2 separate regions of the Homo sapiens genome follow, and region 1 is linked to region 2. The links are contacts of gene promoters, found by promoter capture Hi-C in blood cells and fetal thymus (Javierre and others, 2016). All regions are on one chromosome and are shown on one strand. Each heading gives the region's core, a stretch centred on a gene start or on the middle of the fragment in contact. The rest is flanking DNA. Distances are from core to core; before and after follow the strand shown.

Region 1 (6,507 bases), core at 2,579-5,078, 570 kb after region 2:
AAAGACAGGGTGTTCTGCTTTTGAGTAACTCATTCTTTTACCCATTTGTGCATTAATCAACAAACATTTATTGAGCAAATTTTAATATTTCAGGAATAGAATGAACAAAAGAGATATGGTTCTTAACACCAAGAAATTTACAGCCTGCTGAGAAAAGTAGGTTTTAATCAAGTAACTACATATATAAATGTATAATGACAATCAGGAATAAGAAGAAAAAATAAAGTACTTTTGGATCATTTATAGCAAAGGGAATCAATCAGGAGAAATCTCCCCTGAAGAAGTGACATTGAACCTAAGATCTGAGTAGGAGTTATTTAGCCAAGGGGTAAGGGCAAATCATGAAGATGAAAAAAAAATGGACAATTCCAGGTGACATATCGAAATGTTCTGAGGTTCGAAAAAAAGACTATGTTTCAGGAAACAAAAAGCCTAGTGCATCTGGAAGGCAGAAAGCAAGGGAAATGCTGGGTGAATGAAGGCAGGAGAAATAAGTCAAAGCAAAAAAAGAGTATGTTTCAGGAAACAAAAAGCCTAGCGCATCTGGAAGGCAGAAAGCAAGGGAGATGCTGGGTGAATGAAGGCAGGAGAAATAAGTCAAAGCAGCAGTTACACGTACAGGTAGAGCAGCAGTTACACGTACAGGTGGAGCAGCAGTTACACGTACAGGTGGAGCAGCAGTCCTTAGAGAGTGGCCTGAGGATTCCTGGGGGTTTTTAGGAATGTCCCACAGGGGCTGAGCAGGTATACCCTTTTCATAATGGCACTAAGGTGTTAATTGCCTTTTAGCATCTTATTCTCGCACAAGTGTACAGTGGAGACGTCCAGAGGCTGAGTGGTGTTTAATATCACAAGAGACTAAATGCAGAAGCAGTTATGAAAATCCAATTGTCGGAAATAAAAAAAGAAATACGATTATCAAAGTATTAAAATCAATTGACATAGAAATTTTTTAAAAGACTGCCACAGTCTGAATGTGACCCAAAATTCCTATGTTGAAATCCTAGCCCCCAAGATGATGATATTAGGAGAAGGGGCCTTTGAAAGGTGATTAGGTCATGAATAATTTCAGTGCCCTTATAGAAGAGACCCAGGAGAGACGCCTTGTCTCTTTCACCATGTGAGGATGCAATAGGAAGGTACCATCTCTGAACCCAGAAGAGAGATCTCACCAGACACTGAATCTGCTGGTGTCTTGATCTTGAACTTTCCAGCCTCCATAACTAAAGAAATAAATTCTGTTGCTTATAAGCCAAAAAAAAAAAAGAAAATCCAATTGTCTTCTATTAAACCAAACATAAAAGAGATTGCAAAAATGTAAAATAATGCCATTCTCCTGCTAAATTATTTTTATTTCAGAAAATACAGTTGTCTTTAAATATATATGTATATATAAATATGTTATTATTATTTTAAATTAATTAATAAATATTTTATGATTCTGAGTTTTAATTCTTAATTTGGTAAATACCAAATGTTTAAAAGATTAAAAACTCTTAGAGATCCTCAGTGATTTTTAAGAGTTTAAAGAGCTCTAGAAACTAAAAAGTTTGTGAACCTCCAGGGAAAGCTTTAAAGTCTGCGATGAGATTTAGAAGTTTATTGTAAGACCAATGGGAATATTTTGAAGCATTTTAGTGATAAAAGCATGTAAATAATCATATTCTGCAAGAATGATGTATGGAGGCCAGATGGGAGGTGATTGCAAGGTAGAAAATTATGCTAACTTGAACCGTAATAGTGGTAGGGTGGAAAACAGTGAAGGATGCCAGGGGATATTTAGGAAATAAAAATCAAAGGACTTTCTGTGTAGTTGAAGGGGAAGAAGAGAGAAAGTTTCAAGGTTGGCAACCAGATTTCTGGCTTGTGCAACAGAATGGTCAGCAGTATCTGCTACCACATCAGATAAACCTAAGTGCAGATTTGAGGAGAAGAGTTCTTGAGTTTTATGTCAAAAGTGTTGAATTTAAGGTAATTTTTTGATATTAAGGTGGGGATATCAAATAGGTTGTTGAAGCTATGAGTCTGCAACTGAAAAGAGGTATCTGGATTTGAGATACATATACAAATTTGAAAGCTATTAGCATATGCCTTTAGAAGTCATTGGCATGTACAGCTATAAAAATAATGAAGAATCTTTTATGCACTTACATGAAAAGATCCTCAAGATATATTAATAGTAATTTTTTAAATAGCAAGTTAGAAAATAATGTAATTATGCTACCACTTACATAAGAAAAAAAGAAAGTACATATATTTGCTTCATTTGCCTAAAAACTTTTTTGGAAGATTACACAAGAAACTAATGTAAGCAGTCGGCCAAGTGGAGTGGGAGAGAAAAATGGAGCCTTTACATTAAATGCATTTTCATGTTGTTTTGACTTTGGAACACTCATTTTTTAAAAGTCAGATAGAGAAGGATGAGCTATCAAAAGAGAACGGAAAAGAGCAACTGGAGAGGATGGAGAGTGTGTTGTCCCTGAAGCCAGGGAAAAGAGTGCTTCAGAAAGAATGGAGCAGTTAACCGTGTCAAATCCAACTGAGAGGTTTAGCGATATCGGTACTGGGGAAAAAAAAATATCCACTGCAGGGGGACCATAACATTAGTAAGCAAAACACCAAGACCTAATAAAAATTAATAAAGGACTCAAACAGTTCCCAGTCAAAGAAATGCAAATGGCTTAAAGTGTGAAGAAATGCTCAACTCGTAATGGAAAACGTGATTAGAGTTACTGAATTCTATTTTCACTTATATTGGCAAAGATAAGAAAAACACTTATCTACTGTTGTAAGGAATGTAAACTGGTATTACTTTTTTATATACATAGAGAGACGAGGTCTCACTATGTTGCTCAGGCTGGTTTGAACTGCTGGGTCTAAGCTATCCTGCCACTTCAGCCTCCCAAAATTCTGGGATTACAGGTGTGAGCCTCCACACCTGGCCAGTATTACTTTTTAAAGAGGCATTTTGACAATATGTTTAAAATAGTGTGCCTAGCTTATGACTAGGTAATTTCAATTGCAGAAATTTTCTATCTCTATATCAATACAGATATTTATAAGCATACATACTTGTTATATACATATGTATAGGTATGTAATATGTGTGCATATGTATATGTATATATAGATGCATGAAAAGATATATGTGCAAGGATGTTCTTGCAGCATTGTCTTAGTAGCAAAAGACTAGAAACAACCAAATACATATCAACATTGGACTGGTTAAAAATTACGGTACATCTAGAGAAAATGTATTTGTGCAGATGCAGAAAGATATTTAGGATATAATAGGTTCAAGTTCAAGTGGAGGCTGGGCACGGTGGCTCACGCCTGTAATCCCAGCACTTTGGGAGGCTGAGGTGGGTGGATCACTGGAGGTCAGGAGATCAACACCATCCAGACCAACATGGTGAAACACCGTCTCGACTAAAAATACAAAAATTAGCCGGGTGTGGTGGCACATGCCTGTAATCCCAGCTACTTAGGCGGCTGAGGCAGGAGAATTGCTTGAACCTAGGAGGCAGAGGTTGCAGTGAGCCAAGATCACACCATTGCACTCCAGTCTGGGTGACAAAAGCAAAACTCCATCTCAAAAATAAATAAATAAATAAAATTCAAGTGCAGAACAGTACACATAGAATATATTCATTCTGTTAAACAAATTAATGCATATGCATTTAATATAACTAAAAGTATACAGAAAATATGGTCCTAGTGGATGTATCTTGAAACAGGACCTGAACACTGGGAAGTTTTCCCAGCGGGAGGGAGCCTTAATTTTTATTCACACTCTTTTGTTCGGTTTGAATTTTATTTTTATCATAGCCATATATTGCCCTTTCTGTTAAGGAAAAAAACAGCTAATTTTAAAAGAACTTTTTAAATTTTAAAATGATCTATGGGCTTTGGGATCACAGTGGCAACCTTAACAAGATTTGTTTAAATGGAGTCATGAGGGAGGAAGACATGTCGGCATGAGTGAAAAGTAAGAGGAAGATGAGTAAGTAATGATAACAGACACAAAGACTCTAGAAGTTTTACTGTGAATGGAAGAAGAGTGATATAGTAGTAGCTGAAGGCAGAAGCACGGTCAAGAGAAGAAATTGTTTTGTTTGTTTGAGTTTTGTTTTTAAGTTGGGAGAACTTGAGAATGTTAAAAGTTGATGGGAAGGCTCTTGAGGAGAGAAGAGAGGAGTCATTCATGGACTGCACAAGCACCCCAGGAAGGTGGGAGTGGATGGTCTCTCAAGCACTGGCGAAGGGCACTTCCTTCACTGGAATGAGAGTTCAGGGAAGGAGGGGGCTGCGGAGATGAGTCATTTGGCACTCGGAAAGTGGGGAGTTGGGCAATTTTCTGTCTTATGGCTTCCATCTTTTTTTGTGAAATAGTGATATCTGCTGAATTAAAGAAAGAGTGGAATATGAGAAGATGGGCGTCTCAGACACCAGAGGACAGAGATGGCTTGAAACCTTAATTTCAGAGAACAGAAGAGCACCTTGATTAGAGATGAACAGAAGCCTTGTCCGGATGAGGTTGGCATTCACGGATTTATAGTGCAACCAACCAATCTGTTCTATGTAATTTTTTTTTTCCAACAGTATCTAGAAACCTGGTGTAGGCATAAAGAAAGTCAGGAGTTGGACTGGGGCCTTGACAAATGAGTACCAGCCAAACATAAACAGCAAAGGAGTTCATATTAAATAGACTCCTCCACCTTCCAGCTCTCTGCCACCATCCTCAAGTCCCATCAGTATTCTCTACATAAATTTTTTCACATATTCACAATTCATAAACCTTTGGATGTTGTTCTGGCTAATTAGTCTTGAGTAAATTAAAGAGGGAGGAAAAATAACTACAAAGGTTAGGGATTGGAATGGGAGGAAAGGGAAAGGACTAAATTGTTGAACACTGGTTACTGTGCTAGGTATTTACAAACTTGCTCTCATTTACTACGGAGTAGGAAGTGACTATTTCCTGATTCTCCTTTCTAACAAATTTTTAATAAAGTCATTATCCTTCCCTTTATGAAACCATAGAATTAATAGAAAAACTCACCTCTCTGAGATCATATACTGTCAAAGATATGGAAATTATGGACATGATTATGATGGCAAAAGCATATTCCTTATAGTCTTCACTAAACCACAAACAGACACTGAAGAGTTGAAATATATAAAATGGATTTAGAACCTGTTGGCAGACATAAAAACAGGAAGACAAGGGAGAGTTTTAGGCTTCACTCTGCTCTTCATTTACTTGTTTTCATAATCATCTTCATGACATACATCATCCCACACAATATTCTTATTATATTTATTCGGCAATTGACACGTGCCAGACACCGCTCTAAGCAACTTTACTTGAATTTTCTCATTGAATTCCCACAGTTACCTTATTAACCAGAAGTTGTTACTTATCTCCTTTGTAATGATAAAGAAACTGAAACTTAGAGCTTGAGAAATACGTCCAAAGTCATGCGACTATGATTGCCACAGACCCAAGACTTAAACACAGGCAATCTGACCCCAGAGCACTTACTTTTAATCACTGCCTCACTTTATAATTTACAAAGTAGTGTCTCATGTATTGACATGTCGGCCATCACAATAGTTATTTAAGGAGTAGATGTTGTCACCTCCTGTCTACATTTACTGGCCTTCAGAAAGGTGAAGTATTAGTTCAGGTTTATAAAGTTAAAATACTTTCTAGTCTCTTCTTCTCTATGATATAACACCTGCCATATTTGAAGTCATTAAGGAACTTGATTAATGGGTGAGTTGAAGACTGCATGTTCTCATAAGTAGAGAGCTGTGCTGAAAGCAGTAAGCTGTAATAGAGCATCTAGAACACTGTGCGAGAGAGTAGCTGTGAACTTCAACAGCTTTAATTCTGCTTTGGTCAAAAACATGCTGTGCCTTTACTTAAATTCCCCCTAGCTGGTTTCCCTCTCTCTAAAACAGGAATGGCAAACCTTTCTTCTGGTTAGAAAGGCAGCACACAGAAACATTCCCTATTGGTTTGTTTTACTTTCTTTCATGCTTGACGGCTTGTTGGAAATATTTTGAAAGTACCTGAAGTTTAGTAAGCTTGTTTTAAGGCAAGGAGGAGTCGAGAGAGAGCACAGGGAAGCCAGAGGACAGCTAGAGGGCTACGGTTTGATAATAATCGCTGTAAAGTGAAACAATGATGAGCTCAGTGATGGGGTCCAAAAGGAAAATTTCATCTTATACCTTGAGATCAGCAGTACTGAGAAGGCTGAATAAATGGTTTTTTTCTTCCTACAATTTTAGGCACCAAGGAAATTGTATCTGTTACCTAACAAAAGGATTAGCTTAAAAAAAATTGAGTTTCATGAAGTTAAAACAAGTTAAGCAGCATAGTATTAAAAAAGAAAAGAAACATTATATTCATCCAGCCATTAAATGGTAAATAAGTACAATGAGTTTCACACCCTATATTGCATAAGGCAATGTGCAAAAGAACCACTTGAAGAAAAAGAGTAA
Region 2 (6,301 bases), core at 710-3,209:
AGAACTGATCTGGGGGCTGTATTAACACAATGGCAGACTTCCATTATTTATGCCACAGAGAAAGGCTATGATTAACTAAACAACTTAAGTAACTGCGCTCAGCCTTCTGTGTGTGGCCCCACCTTCCTGACAATCACTGTGTTGGCTTTTGGCTTTGTAAGCATTTTAGGCTTCCCTGTGGAAGCTCACTCCTACCAGGTTTTATATATATATATATATATATATTTAATTCATCTATTCATCTACATAGTTGAACGGCTGAATCTCTCAATAGTTTTTCAACCTCATACGCAACGTAAGACACACTTGAAGAGTGCGGCGCAAAAGGTAAAAACCAGCCTAGAGTTTTAACATGTTTCATCTAACTTCCCAACGCGTGAACAACTACCAGCGGACACAGACACGTTCAGTCTGTATTACCCCGTCCTTGGGCAGTGAGGAAGAAGAAAACCTAGAAGGAAGAAGGTATCCCAGGATAGAAGCAGCAACAGCCGGCTGAAACCCAATTAGATTGCAGGAGAAAGAGAAAAGCCCTGTCTTAGTCTGTGGCCAAAAGACCTTTCCCAATCAAATTTTTCAACACCTGGAAAATTGGCTTATCTATTTGTAGAGAGCACCCAGAGACGAGCGTTAGAGCAGCGCTACCCTGGAGTACCAGTTCTTCGGAATGTTGACCGCCGGCCACGCACCGCTTGACAGCCACGGATCCGCTGGCGGAGCCGCAAGTTACAACCCAGGCGCCTGGCAAACTCACACTACACCTCAGTAGCAATAATCCCAACGGCAGGACACCTGGGGAGGGTGGGCTCGGTCTCCCGGGCCTGGCTCAATTATGTTCCTTTACACAGCATTCAATCATGTTTCAGGAGCCGTAGGTGAGGGGCTGGAGGTGGGAGTGGGGGACACATTTTCTAGCCCCCGACGTCTCCGCGGTTGGAAACTCTGGGCACCTCTTTCGGCCAGCGCTAAGACAATACACAAAGAGCAGGGAACCGGCGCTCCTCTGCGGCCAGAGCTCCGCGCCTAGTCACGGAAGAGCTGGGAATTAAGAATTCCGAGCTCAGCGAGAGCCCTGAAGAAGCACCGGAAATGCTTCCGATCGCTTCATAAGAGAAGTCAATTTGCAAATCAAAGTTGCAGGAACTCCGGACGCCTAGACTACTTCAGCGGGTTACTCGGGAACACCCAACAAGTTTGGCCACCGGGGGCTCGGCATGACAGCGCCGCGCCGCGAGACGACAGAAGCAACTTGTCGCTCGGGCGCCAAGCCAGAGCCCTGAGCCGTCTCCGCTCCCAAGCTCGGGAGAGCACCCAAGAGCCGGCGTCGGGAAAGCGGAGGTCCCTGCCTCCGGCAGCCAAATCCCTCAACTGAAGGCACCTCAGGGGCTCACCTGGACTGCACTCGCTTCCAGGGGCTTCCCCCAACAGTGCAACGCTTCACCGCGAACGCCTCACCTGCCTGCCAGCCCCAGGTGGCGGAGAAATTAACAAAAGAGCAAGCGAACAGGGGGAAAGGGAGACCCGGCGTAAAGTATAGTAAGGAGGGGAGGGCAGGCAGCTCGGCTTTCGGCGGAGAAAGAAGAGAGAGGCGGAACAGAGATGGCTTATACCCAAGGCACCGGCTCGGGAAGGCAACCCAGAAGGGAAGAGGTCGAGAAGCGGCAATGGGTTTTCTACTCCGCTTCCCATCACACACACACACGCACACACACCTCCCCCTTTTTCCTCCTTACCCAGCATGGAAAAGATGAAATCCTTGGCTGTGTGAATCTCCAGCGCTCTCTGGTCGTCGTATTCCCGCTGGTCGTGCTTCGTAAATTCTTGGATGAGTTTGTTCAATTCCTCCACCCGAGCTCCCGACCTGAAATCCAGCTCCGGGAACGCAGGCTTGTTGTTACAGCCCAGGGAGGCTGCCTTGTTGGCGGTGGGAGCCGCCATCTTCATGCAAAACGCGCCGAGTAGCAGCTCCGCGGCAGCGCGGCACCCACCCCCGCCCCCCACCCCGCCCCCCTGGGCCTCCTCCCCTCGCAGGCTCCCAGGCTTTGGCCCCGGCTCGTGGGCGGGTTGGCGGGCGGGCGTCTGGGCGGGCAGTCCCCCGCTCCGTGCGCTCTGGGCGTGCGAGCTTCGGGAGGAGCTGGACTGCAGCGAGGGTGCGTGTGTGGCCCCGACACCCTTTTCTCCGGCCCCACGCCCGCCCCGATGCTGCGCGTCCCTGCCCTGCCCTGGCCCTCTCTGGCAGCGGCAACGGCGGTCGTAGAGCCAACTGGAGCCTCCCCCGGGCGAGGAAAGTGAAGTGGAAACAATGTGAAATTCACCAGCTCTGAAATCAACAAGCTGCCGGCTCCGGTGTTACGGAGCCAGCACCAGCGTCTCCATTTAAAGGGACAGCGCACCCAGTGGAAAGGAAAATAAATAAATGACAGAGGTCTGCACGCATATACCACTTGCCAATCCGTACTTGGGAAGACGCGCGAGGTGTGGATGCATTCTTTCTCCACCTCCACGGCCGTCCCCCCATCCCCTTTCTGGGCAGGGTTTGCCAAGCGCATTCAAGGAGAAGAAAGTCTTCCTCCGTTTGATTTTAAGGGCGGTGTCCTGGGGGAGGACATCTCTGTGCGCGTTTACCTCTCTATCCCAAGAACTCCAATACCTTTAAATAGTAAAGGAAACTGCCTTAAGGAATATGAAACCTGTCTTCTACCCTTTTCCTCTTGGATTGCCAAGATGATAGGATTGAGCGTATAAAAAAAGAGGGTCCACATCTAACCCAGTATTGGCACTCCCACTAACCCCTAGATATCCCTACCTTTGCCCAAGGTAATTAATGACCTGAATAACAGCTTATTTATCTTAACATATAATGAGTTAATGAGATTCAACCTACTCTAATATAAAGATAGGGAAACTGAAGTGTGGGTGTGGGAGAGGGGAAACAATGTATTGCCCCAGGTTCCAAGAAATGTTGGATGACAAGATGAAAATTTTCTCATTCAACAGATAAAATTTGAGTACGCACCATTTGCCAGATGGAGTGACAGAATGTGACAGTGATAACCAAAAGACATGGCTCCTACCATGGAGTTAGGCTTACATGACAAGGCAGGTTCAATCTAAGTCATAGTCCTTTAGGCAGAATAGAGTCTCAGAGGTGGTTTTAGTGTTTATGGGGTGTATCATTCAAACACTTAGGAGGCCCATTGGCTGTGAGAAACATAGGTTATCTTCCTCCCTAATTCTCCAAAATCTCTCTTCTCTATCCCACAGTCCCTGATTTAGATCAGGTCTGTTTCACTTTCTTACCCGAGTTCTCATGGCCAAGAATACAAATTGTTTTGTTAGACATGGAAGGAAGTACGGACTCTTCCATGCCTTCCCCTATAAAATGGGAATAATAATTCCTGTCTCACAGGTTGTTTTAAGGATTACGTGAGATAAAACAGGTCAAGCACTTAGTTCAAGGACTGACATAATAAGTACTTAGCTATTATCAGCTTCTACTATTATTGTTATTAATTCTTTCACTGTTCCTCAATCTAGTAACAACTTGTTGCCAGAGTGATCTTTAGAAAACACAGACCTGACCACTGACCTCCCCCTGGAATTCCTCTCTTCTTTACTCCGTTTACACCAAAACCAATCCGCGTCTGCCTTTTTCTTACAGCTTTCCGGAGACCCTCCCCTCAAGCTGGTGGCAACTTTTCCTTCCTCAGAACCTACTCTCAGAAGCTTTCATATGATGCTAATGAATTTTGACCTTGCTTCATCATTGCTTTTTGTTTTGGGTTGTGTGTGTGTGTGTTTGTTTGTTTCTGAAACAGGGTCTTCCTCTGTAGCCCAGGCCAGAGTGCAGTGGCACAATCGTGGCTCACAGCAACCTCAACCTCCTGGGATTAAACAGTCCTTGCATCTAGATCTCTCAAAGGGATTACAGGCGTGAGCCACCACACCTGACCACTTCATCATTGTTAATGCAAGTTTTAGACTAAAAGATTCTTGGGGATGAGGGCTACATCTTATTCATCTTTGTATTTCCTGCAGCATATGGTCCTACCGAAGGGTCCTCTATGTTTATTGAATCAAGTAATGAGTGAAGAATTGTGGCATAACCAGTTAATTTCTCTTACTTTTCGTTTCCTTCTCTTTGAAACACACTTCCTCACCCACTCAGTATGAAAGAGAGAGGATCCATGCCTAGATAAATGCTGGTGGACTGATGAGGAAGTGACTTAAAAACTCTGGTTTTTAGGCAGGGCGTGGTGGTTCACGCCTCTAATCCCAGTACTTTGGAGGCCGAGGCGGGCAGATTGCCTGAGCTCAGGAGTTCGAGACCAGCCTGGGTAACACGATGAAATCCCATCTCTACTAAACATACAAAAAATTAGCCAGTTGTGGCGGCGTGCACCTGTAGTCCCAGCTACTTGGGAGGCTGAGGCAGGAGAATTGCTTGAACCCAGGAGGCGGAAGTTGCAGTGAGCCGAGATCGCGCCACTGTACTCCACCCTGGGTGACAGAGTGAGACTCCATCTCCAAACAAACAAACAAACAAACAAACAAAGCAAGCTCTGGCTTTCGCAGCTCTGCTATGCTGCCCTGACTTCTCATCCTGAGAGGATATTAACATTACCTGGGCAGTACTAGAAGCCACATAAGTGTTTGGAACTCCAGCACAAAGTGATCCACTCCCATCTGTCAGTGCTTCACTAGTGATCAATGGCAGGCACCTGTGCGACAGCTGGCTGAGGCAGTCATTCCATAGAGCAGAATGGTTCTAGTTACCTCCAAACCATGTACAGTTAAGAAATACTTCAGACAACAAAATCGAAACACTTTTTATTTGTTAATTTCCAAACATATGAATGAGGCATCACTAATCTTCCCTTAATTTTACCTTTTCTTATGATATTTATATCCATAAAGAAACAACAGGTTGTTAGCAGAAAGTATTCCTGTTGTGCCGTAGTGCTGGACCCTGGGGGTTTGAATGAGTGAGTGGTCTCTCTGATGTTCCTCATTGTCTGTTCTCCTTCCCGTCAGCCAGATCAGATTTCTATGAATCATGGACCCTCAGTGAGCCCGCATATCCAGATAATGTAATTGGATGGTAAACTAACACCTTCCTAGGCTCTAATAGAACGCTGATAAGATTGTGTCAATATCCCTTGTTGAATTAGAAGAATAGAGAAAAACGATCAAAAACCATAATTTCCTGAATTGATCTATTGGGAGACTTTTTAACCTCTGAGCTTCTCAAGGGCAAGTACTGTGTTTCTTCACCTGTGTAAACACTGCATTTAATTTAGTTCTTGACCCATCTTATGACCTTAGTTTATATGTTCAAATGAATATATAAAAGAATGAATGAAGCCGGGCACGATGACTCACACCTGTAATCCCAGCACTTTAGGAGGCCAAGGCGGGCAGATCACAAGGTCAGGAGTTCAAGACCAGCCTGGCCAACATAGTGAAACCCCATCTCTACTAAAAATTCAAAAATTAGCTAGGCATGGTGGCATGCACCTGTAGTCCCAGCTAGTTGAGAGGCTGAGGCAGGAGAATCGCTTGAACCCGGGAGGTGGAAGTTATGGTGAGCCGAGGTTGCACCACTGCACTCCAGCCTGGGCAACAGAGGGAGACTCCTTCTCAGAAAAAATAATAATAAAAAAGAATGAACTAATACCATCCCTCAAAGTCCAAGAAGTCAGAATTTAGGTGATTTTTGCTACAATTTAAATATCTCAATGTAAGCTATCTATGGTTTCCCAGTATTTAGTTAAGTGTTGTTATAAATGTAAGTATTTCTGCATGCATTTAATTAAATGCCCCAATTTTTATGCCTTTTTCTCCCTGTGTATGTTATATGACCTAAGAGAAGGAAGAGAGATAGAGAGGAAGGTGGAGAGAGAGAGAAAATCATTATTAGAAGATGTTAAAGAGTGTCTGAGGCTTGAATAAAAATGCATATCTCTAGAATTTTGACAGATGGACAAAGGTCAGTGGAGTCTACCATCTAAACAAGCACTAAGGTAGGCTTTTCCTTTGCTGGCTCTTGCAGCATCAAACAGAACAGAGTAACAGCCTGCATTTCCAAACTGCTGTCACACTTAGAGGTAGAACTTGCCCTTCTACTCCCAACTCCCAAATTTTATTAGCATGTGAAAGAAGTCTTCATCTTGCTTCTCTGGAGCTGTTTGTTGTTAAATACAGCTCTGAAGTTCTGTGGCAAACTCTCAGCCATGAATAACTGGGCTGTGCAGAGCCTGCATTAAAAATAGCAAGCTCCACATCCACATGATGGATTAAC

The links. The method cuts DNA at HindIII sites, captures the fragments that hold promoters and counts their contacts. A CHiCAGO score of 5 or more calls a contact.
Region 1: a fragment that was not itself captured here is called in contact with the fragment with the promoter of MB21D2 in region 2 in 1 of 17 cell types (monocytes); the score reaches 5.1 in monocytes.

What each region holds. Positions count from the first base shown.
Region 1 is chr3:193,484,671-193,491,177 of GRCh38, forward strand. It overlaps ATP13A4 (ATPase 13A4), which reads right to left. Exons shown (of 30, transcript NM_032279.4): 7 at 5,060-5,194. Among named protein-coding and RNA genes, the nearest start is that of ATP13A4-AS1, 65 kb to the right of the region's middle. The HindIII fragment of the contact is 4,520 bases long and covers 1,569-6,088 here.
Region 2 is chr3:192,915,897-192,922,197 of GRCh38, forward strand. It overlaps MB21D2 (Mab-21 domain containing 2), which reads right to left and starts at 1,960. Exons shown (of 2, transcript NM_178496.4): 1 at 1,734-1,960. The coding sequence starts at 1,944. RefSeq lists an enhancer at 926-1,255 and a silencer at 1,906-2,265. The HindIII fragment of the contact is 3,892 bases long and covers 1-3,724 here.